4 separate regions of the Homo sapiens genome follow, and all the other regions are linked to region 3. The links are contacts of gene promoters, found by promoter capture Hi-C in blood cells and fetal thymus (Javierre and others, 2016). All regions are on one chromosome and are shown on one strand. Each heading gives the region's core, a stretch centred on a gene start or on the middle of the fragment in contact. The rest is flanking DNA. Distances are from core to core; before and after follow the strand shown. Region 1 overlaps BICD1 (BICD cargo adaptor 1). Region 2 has its middle 7.6 kb from the start of DNM1L. Region 3 holds the start of AMN1 (antagonist of mitotic exit network 1 homolog). Region 4 overlaps BICD1 (BICD cargo adaptor 1).

What was found. Contacts are between HindIII fragments. The CHiCAGO score rates a contact against its expected background, and 5 or more counts as called.
Region 1: a contact is called between a fragment that was not itself captured here and the fragment with the promoter of AMN1 in region 3, in 1 of 17 cell types (non-activated CD4 T cells). The highest score is 5.2, in non-activated CD4 T cells.
Region 2: a fragment that was not itself captured here is called in contact with the fragment with the promoter of AMN1 in region 3 in 2 of 17 cell types (endothelial precursors and fetal thymus); the score reaches 6.1 in endothelial precursors.
Region 4: a contact is called between a fragment that was not itself captured here and the fragment with the promoter of AMN1 in region 3, in 2 of 17 cell types (total B cells and fetal thymus). The highest score is 5.4, in total B cells.

Annotation. Positions count from the first base shown.
Region 1 is chr12:32,322,371-32,325,109 of GRCh38, forward strand. All of the region lies in intron 4 of BICD1 (BICD cargo adaptor 1), which reads left to right. Among named protein-coding and RNA genes, the nearest start is that of FGD4, 76 kb to the right of the region's middle. The HindIII fragment of the contact is 573 bases long and covers 1,099-1,671 here.
Region 2 is chr12:32,670,281-32,673,063 of GRCh38, forward strand. No RefSeq gene overlaps it. Among named protein-coding and RNA genes, the nearest start is that of DNM1L, 7.6 kb to the right of the region's middle. The HindIII fragment of the contact is 1,077 bases long and covers 849-1,925 here.
Region 3 is chr12:31,727,526-31,730,458 of GRCh38, forward strand. AMN1 (antagonist of mitotic exit network 1 homolog) reads right to left here and starts at 1,496. Exons shown (of 7, transcript NM_001113402.2): 1 at 1,446-1,496. The coding sequence starts at 1,483. It overlaps AMN1-AS1 (AMN1 antisense RNA 1), which reads left to right and starts at 1,740. Exons shown (of 1, transcript NR_198987.1): 1 at 1,740-2,933. It overlaps LOC105369722 (a long non-coding RNA gene), which reads left to right. Exons shown (of 3, transcript XR_931497.3): 3 at 1,132-1,365. RefSeq lists a silencer at 1,285-1,364 and enhancers at 1,415-1,764, 1,777-2,409, 1,805-2,004. The HindIII fragment of the contact is 3,446 bases long and covers 1,088-2,933 here.
Region 4 is chr12:32,244,765-32,247,704 of GRCh38, forward strand. All of the region lies in intron 2 of BICD1 (BICD cargo adaptor 1), which reads left to right. Among named protein-coding and RNA genes, the nearest start is that of BICD1-AS1, 140 kb to the left of the region's middle. The HindIII fragment of the contact is 7,468 bases long and covers 1-2,940 here.

The sequences.
Region 1 (2,739 bases), core at 135-2,634, 590 kb after region 3:
AAGACAATTTTTCCACAGATAGGGTGCGGGTGGTCTGGGGCCATTAGATCTCATAAGGAGCTTGCAACCTAGATCCCTCGCATGCGCAGTTCACAATAGGGTTCGCACTCCTATGGCAATCTGATGCTGCCACTCATCTGACAGGAGGCAGAGCTCAGGCGGTAATGTTTGCTCGCCTGCCACTCACCTCCTGCTGTGTGGCCTGGTTCCTAATAGGCCACAAACTGGTACTGGTCAGAGGCCTGGGAGTTGGGGACTCCTGTTGTGTAGGGAGGAAACACACATGCAAGAGACAGTGTTCTATTTGATGTTTTCTGGAGATGCTATCGTGAAGACACTGTAGACTTACCTTTTTAGGCTTAGAAAATGTTTATATTAAATCTCAACTGTCAGAGTCCAGATTGAAGGCTGTTCTAAAGGCATGACCTTATTCATCATAACACTTTTGCTGCTAAAACAAGCTTCAGACACATTCAGTACATTTTGTTTTGATCCAATATTTATTTGATCCAGAGGCCTTTCCTTTTGAAGGGCGTTTTGGAAACAGCCTTATCTGTAATCATGTGTACTAATTGAATAACGTTTACACTTTCCAGTGCAAATTTGCTTAATTTTCAAAGGAAAAAAGGAAAACAAAAACACTTCTGACATAATCAGTTTTCACTGAGATTGTATAGAATAGAGATTTTCCATCTCCTTTATGAAAAATTCAAATGACATGGCTATTCATGAAATACCATATTACATAATTACCAGGTTTTTCACTGAAAACTATTGCCCAAATAGTCTGGGTAAGCAAATTCATCATCACCTCTGGAGATACAGTCTGTTATAACTAATGAAATCCAGCTAAGATTTGTATTCAAATATTTCCTGACTCTAAAATGAAAGAGTTGCTTTTATAAAATTTTCAAAATTGTGAGAACAGATGTGTTTGCCATGTAAAAACATTTTGGTTGTGGGAGGTGGACCACAGCTAACCAATTGTTCACAATAGCTAACATTGTAGAACCTTCAGTATTAAATTCACTAACTCACTTCATCATCAAAATTCCCTATGAGGCGTTACTGTGCTCCTTGCATAGGTTACCAAACTGAAGCTTTCTCAGAGTCACATAGCTAAGTAAATGTTGGTCCCGAGATTTGACTCCAGTGTTCTCTGATGCCACAGGCCCAGTTCTTTACCTGCAGTACTATCATTTGGGAATAATTTGGTTTCTGCAGCCATAATATATAATTTGTGGGTTGCTTTCCTTTCATAGGTATGGACAAACACTATGTCATAAAATCAGAGCTACAACTTAAAAGCCTCTAAATAACACCTTGAGATAACAAAACTGTATCTTAGGTTCTAATATATGTGATCATACTATACAGGCAGTCCTTGGTTTGCATAGTAGTCTGGGACAGTAAAAAATGGTCATGCAAACTGAAACCATGCAAAACAAACTTAATAATTAATGGGGAAATTTACAATTGTTTTGTGATCTTTAAATATTTTTGTGAAACATTAAAAAGTCTCTTACTGTTGGTTATAAATATATATAGAAATGAAAATATAGTAAAACTACTTAGTACTTCATAATTTAAAACATTAGGAATATTGAGAGTTAACCTTTTATTTCTTTGTAAACAGCTTATCAAGAGTATTTTGATCTTGCCTTCCCATAAAGCTTAGGGCCGGGCGCGGTGGCTCACGCCTGTAATCCCAGCACTTTGGGAGGCCGAGGTGGGCAGATCACGAGGTCAGGAGTTCGAGACCAGCCGCCAGGCTGAAACCCCATTTCTACTAAAAACCCCATGGTGAAACCCCATTTCTACTAAAAATACAAAAATTAGCCAGGTGTGGTGGCGTGTGCCTGTAGTCCCAGCTGCTTAGGAGGCTGAGGCAGAAGAATCGCTTGAACCCGGGAGGCGGAGGTTGCAGTGAGCGTAAATCACACCACTGCACTTCAGCCTGGTGACAGAGCTAGACTCCATCTCAAAAAAAAAACAAAAAAAAAAACTTAGGACACTGAGCAAGAATCTTTTCTATGCTTTGGCAAATTGTCATCCTCATTTCTAAGTTTGGATCACCTTCCAACATTTTATCCTCTGCACTTTAAACATCTGGAAATATCTTTGTGAGTACCTTTAATGTGCCAGCATCACTTCCTCTTCGACATTTTCATCCTTTTTGCAACTACTGTACTGTACTTTTCTTTTTCTTTTTCTTTTGAGATGAAGATGGAGTCTCACTCTGTCGCCCAGGCTGGAGTGCAGTGGCACAATCTCGGCTCGTTGCAACCTCCATCCCCCGGGTTCAGGCAATTCTCCTGCCTCAGCCTCCCCAGTAGCTGGGATTACAGGTGCGTGCCACCTTGCCCGGCTAATTTTTTAAAATATTTTTAGTAGAGACGGGGTTTCACCATCTTGGCCAGGCTGGTCTTGAACTCCTGACCTCGTGATCCACCCACCTCGGCCTCCCAAAGTGCTGGGATTACAGGCATGAGCCACCACACCCGGCCATACTGTACTTTTTCATTTAATAGATTGAAAAATTTGCCTCCACTAAATTTCTTTGGGTGAACATCTAAAGTCCCTCAAACAGCATTAGTGTCAACATTTCCATATTCAGTTATTTCTTCTATAACTCCATTTAGGTAGTTTTGGGGATTTTTTTAGAGGCAGGGTTTCACTATGTTGCCTCAGCTCCTGGGCCCAAGCAATGCTTCTGCCTCAGCCCCTGGAGTAGCTAGG
Region 2 (2,783 bases), core at 137-2,636, 940 kb after region 3:
GACTTCTAGCTTCCAGAACTGTGAGACAATACATATCTGCTGTTCTAAACCAACCAGTCAGTGGTACTTTGTTACAGCAGCCCCAGGAAACAAATATATTCCACCACCAAGTTTATGCAGAAAGAGATTCATTCATTCATTTGACAGTCTTGCTCGGTTGCCCAGGCTGCAGTGCAGTGGTGCAATCTCGGCTCACTACAACCTCTGCCTCCTGGGTTCAAGCAATTGTCCCACCTCAGCCTCTCGAGTAGCTGGAGCTACAGCCGTGCAGCTCCATGCCCAGCTAATTTTTGTATTTTTAGTAGGGATGGGGTTTTGCCATGTTGCCAGGCTAGTCTCGAACTCCTGGCCTCAGTGATCTGCCTGTTTGGCCTCCCAAAGTGCTGGGATTACAGGCGTGAGCCACCACACCCGGCCCGAAAGATATTTAATATGGGAAATTAGATGCTTATAAATCTGTTAGAGTGCCTGGGAAAAACAGGTGTTAGCTAGACATCCAGGAATTACTTCCCGAACAATGTCACAAAATCAGTACACCAGAAGTTACTGTATATTTATCATAAGCGACAGCTGGCTCTCGGGATCTTTTTATCTCGACTGTTATCTGAGAATCAGGAAAATATCATCAGAACCATTAAGTCCAGAACCACGTCATGCTTCCCATGATCTTGCGTCCCAGAGTAGGTGTCCCTTTTGTTTGTCATAGTGTACTAGGGAGCCTTTAGATCTGCAAAGGTAGCAGCTAACCAAGGGCTAAAAGTGAAATTTCTCTTCACCATCAAATATGAGCAAATTGAGTTTGTGTGAGGGAGACAAAAAACAGAAAAACAGAGAAGGGAGATATGAAAAGCTTCTAAGAATGTCAAACAACATTTGAGAACCTGGAGTAGAGTTGTAAAGAGGCTAATGAGAAGGCTTGAGAAATGGGGCAAGTGAAGTAGTTTAAATGCAGGGATGTCTAACATATAATTTTCAGTTGTCACTGCTGTAATTTAAAATCACTATTGCTGGGCGTGGTGGCTCATGCCTGTAATCCCAGCACTTTCAGAGGCCAAGATGGGCGGATCACCTGAGGTCAGGAGTTTGAGGCCAGCCTGGCCAACATGGCAAAACCCTGTCTCTACTGAAAATACAGCCGGGCGCAGTGGCTCACACCTGTAATCCCAGCACTTTGGATGTCTAGCTAACACCTCAGGGCGGATCATCTGAGGTCAGGAGTTCGAGACCAGCCTGACCAACATGGAGAAACCCCGTTTCTACTAAAAAAATACAAAATTAGCCGGGCGTGGTGGTGCATACCTGTAATCCCAACTACTCGGGAGGCTGAGGCAGGAGAATCACTTGAACCCGGGAGGCAGAGGTTGCGGTGAGCTGAGATCATGCCATTGCACTCCAGCCTGGGCAACAAGAGCGAAACTCTGTCTTTCAAAAAAATAAATAAACAAAATACAAAAATTAGCTGGCGAGTGGCCCACGCCTATTGTAATCCCAGCTACTTGGGAGGCTGAGGTGGGAGAATCCCTTGAACCCAGGAGGCAGAGGTTGCAGTGAGCTGAGATTGTGCCACTGCACTCCAGCCTGGGCTACAGAGCGAGACTTGATCTCAAAAATAAATATATAAATATAAATAAAATAACTCTATTATCTCAAATAGTTTCTAAAATATGCCACAAATTTTGATGGTAGGAGGATAAAAAGAAGGGCTACGTTCTATTGGGGTGTGGGTGTGGAGCAAAGGGAAGAAATCAGGACCATATCTTAACTCCCAAGTTATTTTGTCGTTAACTGCTCTTAATTGTGTTGTCACACTGCCCTCTCATGGTCCCGTCAGTATCTCACCAGATTCAATTTCTGGCTTCTGAACCATCTGGCCAATTCCACCATCTGCAAACAATTTCCTGCACCTGCTAACAAAGTATGTGTTAAGCTTGAGGCCTGGGGAGTAGCAAATTGATTAAAGCTGTTTACTTTATCATCTTTGCAAAACACGGGCAGTTTCCAAAATATGACAAAGAGGCTTCCCCAACAGAGCTGTATATTTTATATTAACATTAGATCCCCACTAACCGCTATGATTTGAAGGTGCAGATACCGGCATCTTGGCTGTGATTGATGATCAAAATGTTGGCATAAAATGATATTGGACACATGCGATAAAAACAGTCTGACCTTTTCCAAGATCGATTAATTTCCAGTTATTAATTTAATCCAAAATAAACTTCCTCTAATTCGGGATTTTAAGTTAGAACAAAGCCAGGCTACTCCCTAGCTAAGTAACTTGGCATCTATTCTAATGAGGAGTCCTATGCCAAGCCAGACTCATATGTGTTGGTGAGATTTGATTGCCAGTCCTGGTTGCAATTATATCAATTCAGAGCTGCTTAAATCCTTGTTATTCCAGATTTTCCAAATAAAAAAGAAAAGAAAACCCCATATCCAGTAGACTAATATTATGTAACACGCTTCATACGAGGTAGTGGGGGAACCCAGCTAAATAAGATAATCACTTCTGCCCTTCGTGAGCTCACTATTGGTGAAGGGGGAGGGCATGTTAGTGCCATATCCACGGTTCCTCCCTACTCTCCAGCAAAATATACTGCCTGGCTAAGATCCGTATGCCTAACAAGTACTTCATCAATATGTGTTGAATTAATGAAGAAAGGAATAAATACACGAGGCAGAATGTGTAGCGGTTGAGAGTTTGCTGCCGGGCATGGTGGCTCACACCTGTAATCCCAGCACTTTGGGAGTCCGAGGCGGGTGGATCACCTGAGGTCAGGAGT
Region 3 (2,933 bases), core at 246-2,745:
ATATTTCTACCTTTCCTGCCTGTCAAACCTTTACTCTTTTTATTTCACTCTCTACGATACATTTCCTCCCATTTGCAACCGTCAGATACTACCAATGTTCAAAAATAACCCCCTTGACAAAGCTTTCTCCTATTCTTTTCCTTATTAGAAATTTCAAAAGTTTGTTACTCTCCCGCTTGTGATATTATTCTACATATATTATAGTTATTTATTTTATTTTTTTGAGACAGTCTCGCTCTGTCGCCTAGCAGCCTAGGCGTGCAGTGGCGCGATCTCAGCTCACTGCAACCTCTGCCTCCTGGGTTGAGGCGATTCTCCTGCCTCAGCCTCCAGAGTAGCTGGGACTACCGGCGCCACTACTACTCCTGGCTAATTTTTGTATTTTTAGTACATGCCGCGGTTTTGCCGTGCTGGCTAGGCTGGTCTCCAACTCTCCTGATCTCAAGTGCCTCGGCCTCCCAAAGTGCTGGGATTACAGGCGTGAACCACCGTGCCCAGATAATTTTTGTATCTTTAGTAGAGGCGGGGTTTCGCCACGTTGCCCAGGCTGGTCTCGAACTCCTGAGCTCAAGCAGTTCTCCCACCTCGGCCTCCCAAGTTTAATGTAAAATATCAGATGCCATTGTTTCAGAAAGCCTTCAGTAGATTAAGGAGATTGTTCTCCTTATCCTTAAGATGTCTATTTTTTACATGGCAATATTAACGGACTGAAAGCTCCTGGAGAGACGCAATTGCCCTTGTAACTTCCATTTCCGTACAATTTCTGGTAGGAAATAATAATAACAATAACACTTAGTGGTGTTTATTATTTGCTGGGCATCCTTATAAGGGTTTTACATGTTTTAAATTTATCCCTCAGGACAACTCCATGTGATGGGTGCTATTATCACAAAAATTTTATAGATAAAGAACCTAGGCACAGGGAGAGGTTACGTTACCGGTCCATGGTCACGTGGCTGGTGAATGGCAGAGCCGGGGGCTGAACCCAGCAATCTCAGCCAGGGATCCGTGGTCTTAACCACTTTGTTACCTTTATCCCAGGGTCTGTCAATGTTTATTCCAGTTACAGGGGTGGAATTCTGCTAGAAGCTTTTGAGAACCTCATCTAGCGTTGTGTTTTTTTCTACCAAGGCTTTTAGCTGCTAAGAGAGAGGCCACTGCCAGTAACAGCCGGGGCGCCGAGCTGTCAAGGCTGACGGAGGAATGGACGCTCATCGCGCAGCGGAGTGTTGGAGGGGCAAGCCCGCCAAGAGACCCACTTTGCACAACTGTCCTCAGCCAGGAAACGACAGATCAGGAACCCAGGGACAGAAACACACGCGGGGCCTCTTCAGAGGTCGGCGGGGGGGGTGGGAAAGGGGCGGGGAGGAAGAGCAGCGCAGGGCCTGGCCGTTTGGAGGAGGTGCTGGGGCGGCGCGAAGGGAGGCGGGACAGGGTAGACTCACAGATCCAGGAGCTGACTGACCCGCCGTGGGCGAGGCATCGCTGCAGCGTCTGAAGCCTCTTCCGCGGTCCCAGGGCCTCCAGAACCCAGCCAGGGACCGTCCGCCAACTCCCGCCCACCGCGCGACGCGTAGGTTTTTGTGACGTCACACGGATTTTTCCGGTGACCGGGGCGTGGCCACGCTTCGGACTCCACAAGGAAAGAAGAGAGCCCCCTTTGGGGCGGAGCCACTGAGGGCTGCGCGGAAGAGGCTGGGTGTGATAAACTATAAAGAGGCCCTAAACTCGGATGCAACGTGACGGGAGTTGTAGTTCTTTCACCTGGCGGGCGTCTGCTCCGGTTCAGCTGCAGGAGGTTTCTTGGGAGTTCAGCCCAGCGCGCAGCCCCGCCGCGACGCCGCGAGCCGAGAACTCTCCTGGGGCGAAGGGAGCGCTGAGAAGTCGCTACTCTTACTAAAAGGATGCGTTGGATGCTGGGCCATACCCTTGGCGATGCACACTGGAGACCCGCTCGGATACGGACTCCATTAACATCAAACGGAGCGTGTTAGAGGATCCGAGTTTACTGAGCACTTTCTAGGAAGCGTGCACTGAGCTACGTGCTTTCTAGGCCTTAGTTCAATACTTAACCATATTCATTATAATCCGGTGAAATCGTAATTATTTAGCCTTATTTTACAGATGAGGACACTGCGTACCAACAAGTAACCTCACTAAGAATTTCGTCATGGAGGAGAAGGGAACCTGTATTCAAATTAGGAAGGATCCTGAAGAAAGGGCACCTTTAGGTGGAATTTTATCTTTGGTTCTGCTGCAGAGTACTTGCTGCTTTTTAGTGCTCCCTCCACCCCCCTCATTCTTCCTTGTAGATTAGTCTGTTGTTTGTATGCTGAGTTCCTTTTTTAAGCTCCTTGAAAGTTGGAACCCACTGCTGTTGCCTGTTCAGGATGCTACACATTGAATCAACATGGATTTATTAAGCGCTGAACGAGGGCTAGGGATCGTGCTGGGTGCTGAGGATTGAGTGGCGAACACTTGGGTCAGACAAGTAAAAGGGCAATTAGAATAACTGTTAAATGCTTAGATGGGGTTAGTTCTATGGAAGCACCCATGGGGGTGGGATACAGATCAGAGAGAAAAGGGTGGTCTGCAAATAGTTTGGGATGGCTACACTGGAGAGTGATCAAGAGTGAGTGTAGGGCAGGGGTTGGCCGACTTTTTCCATAAAGTGCTCTGAAAGTTGCAGATTCCAGGAGAAGTAACTATTGTCAGACCCAGACAAATTGGAGCCTAGAGACCAGAAAGGAAGGAAACTCATGCTTGTATGTCTGAGATAAGAACTGTCTCAAGGCCAGACGCGGTGGCTCACACCTGTAATCCTAGTACTTTGGGAGGCCGAGGCGGGCGGATCACGAGGTCAGGAGTTTGAGACCAGCCTGGCCAACGTGGTGAAATTCCCGTCTCTACTAAAAATACAAAAAAAAAAAAAA
Region 4 (2,940 bases), core at 352-2,851, 520 kb after region 3:
ACTACAGGCACGTGCCACCATGCCCAGCTAATTTTTGTATTTTTAGTAGAAATGGGGTTTCACCATGTTGGCCAGTATGATCTCAATTTCTTAATCTCGTGATCTGCCTGCCTTGGCCTCCCAAAGTGCTGGGATTACAGGTGTGAGCCACCATGCCCGGCCGACATAGGCTATTTTTTAAAATGCAAGCTCTTCTGAACCATATAATATGATGTTTTAAAATATAGACTCTGAAGACAAAGACCTGGGCTCAGAATCAGGCCCCACCACTTATTTTCAATGGAATCTTGTCTGAATCTTGTAATCTTTCCAAGCCTCAGTTTTTTCATCTGTATAATAGGGATAAAAATAATAGTAAACAAATAAATGTATTTCTTTTGAATATCTAGTAGTATTTTAAAAATCAGATAACTAGAATTATATAACTCTATGTGCTTTATTTTTTACTTGTTTGCTGGGAATCAAAGAGCTTAGTTTTGTTTTTTGTTTTTTTTTTTTTTGAGACGGAGTCTCGCTCTGTCCCCCAGGCTGGAGTGCAGTGGCGCGATCTCAGCTCACTGCAAGCTCCCCCTCCCAGGTTCACGCCATTCTCAAAGAGCTTAGTTTAAGCTCAATTCAAGTGACTATTTGAGGCCTGGTCAGGATATCTGCTGTTATTTGGAACACAAGCTGTTTGCCCAGGACTAAGATCAAGTGATTTTCCTAAAGCAAACAGTGTATTGAATGTAATCCAAATCATCAGCAGGAACAAAGGAGGCCATATAGCTTAGCAATTAAGGCATGGGATCTGAAGTCAGAGAGACTTGGATTTGAATCATGGCCCTGACAAGTTACGTGCCTCTCTCTGCCTGAGTTTCTTCATCTGTTAGATGAGCATAATATTGCAATATAGTGTTACTTTGAGAATTAAATGAGGTAATGCAAAGCTCTTAGAGTAGTTACTAGGATAAGTGTCCAATTAACCATAGTTTAAGAAAAAGGATAAGCTGGGCACGGTGGCTCATGCCTGTAATCCCACACTTTGGGAGGCTGAGGTGGGCGGATTGTCTGAGGTCAGGAGTTCGAGACCAGTCTGGCCAACATAGTGAAACCCCTTCTCTACTAAAAATACAAAAATTAGCCAGGTGTGGTGGCGCACACCTGTAGTCCCAGCTACTTGGGAGGCTGAGATGGGAGAATCGCTTGAACCCAGGAGGCAGAGGTTGCAGTGAGCCGAGATCGTGTCACTGCACTACAGCCTGGGTGATAGAATGATACTCTGTCTCAAAAAAAAAAAAAAAAAAAAAAAAAGGAAAAAGGATGAAATCACAACTTGGAGCAAAAAAACCCAAAGGCATATTTAAAGATTTGCGTATTGGGTTAAAACAAGTTTTAACATCTGGAAAGAAAAAGCATCCATCAACTTTTCTTATCAAGAAATATGAATTATAGCCAGGTCCAGTGGTGTGTGCCTGAAGTCCCAGCTGCTTGGGAGGCTGAGGCGGGAGGATCACTTGTGACTGGGAGTTTGAGAACAGCCTGGGGAACATAGTGAGAACCCATCAGGAAAAAAAAAAAAAAAAAGGTTGATTAAAAAAAGAAAAACAAAAGAGGCCAGGCACGGTGGCTCACACTTGTAATCCCAGCATTTTGGGTGGCCAAGGTGGGAGGATCGCTTGAGGCCAGTGATTAAAGACCAGCCTGGACAACATAGTAGGACTCCATCTCTATAAAAATTTTAAAAATTAGCCAGACATGGTGCCGTGTGCCTATAGTCTCAACTACTTTGGAGGCTAAGGCAGGAGGAATGCTTGAGCCTGGGGGGTTGAGGCTGCAGTGAGCTGTGATGGTGTCAATGAACTCTATCCTGCAGTACAGAGTGAGACCTTGTCTCAAAAAAAATCATCTTTACAGTTATTTGATTATTTGCAGATTTTCAGTGTTTATTGTTTTTACTTTCCTTGCCCCACTATTCTGCATTCATCAAATATTCATTGAACACTGTCTTTTTGCCAGAGACTGCTGTAGGCACAAGAGATACAGCAAAAAACAAGACAAAACCCTTGCTCTCATGAAACTTACAGTCAAGTGTGTGAGATGGACATAAACATAGTACTGTGCTGTCATGTTGTAAAATGGGACCTCTCATTGAGAAGCTGGGTTGGTTTGGGGGTGGGGAGTATGACATCAAGAGTTCTGTTTTGATCATGTTTAGTTCAAGATGCCTGTTATGGTCAGGCACCGTGGCTCACACCTGTAATCTAGAACTTTGGGAGACTGAGGTGGGTGGATCCCTTGAGTTCAGGAGTTTGAGACCAGCCTGGGCAACACAGCAAAACCTTGTTTCTACAAAAAATACAAAAATTAGCCCGGTATGGTGGTGTGTGCCTGTAGTCCCAGCTACTAGGGAGGCTGAGGTGGGAGGATCACTTGAGTCATGGTAACAGACTCGCTCTGGGTTTCGCTCTGGATGACAGAGCGAGACCCTGTATCAAAAAAAAAAAAAAAATGCCTATTAGACCTTCAAGTGGTGAAGACAAGTAGGTAATTGGATACACAAGTCTGGGCTCAGGGTAGAGGCTGGGCTAGAGAAAGAAATTTGGGAGTCATCAGTGAATAGATGACATTTTAAGCCATGGGCTTGGAGGAGATAACCTAAGGAATGACGAGAATACATCTGAAGATCCAGCCTCAGACACTCTGGTGTACAGAAGCAGGTAGAGAAAAGGAGAAACCATTAAAGACCTCTGTTGGGCCGGGCATGGTGGCTCACACCTGTAATCCCAGCACTTTGGGAGGCCGAGGTGGGCAGATCACTCGAGGTCAGGAGTTCAAGACCAGCCTGGACAATATGGAGAAACCCTGTCTCTGCTAAAAATACAAAAATTAGCTGGGTGTGGTGGTGCACACTCACTTCACTCTAGCCAGTAGTCCCAGCTACTCAGGAGGCTGAGGCAGGAA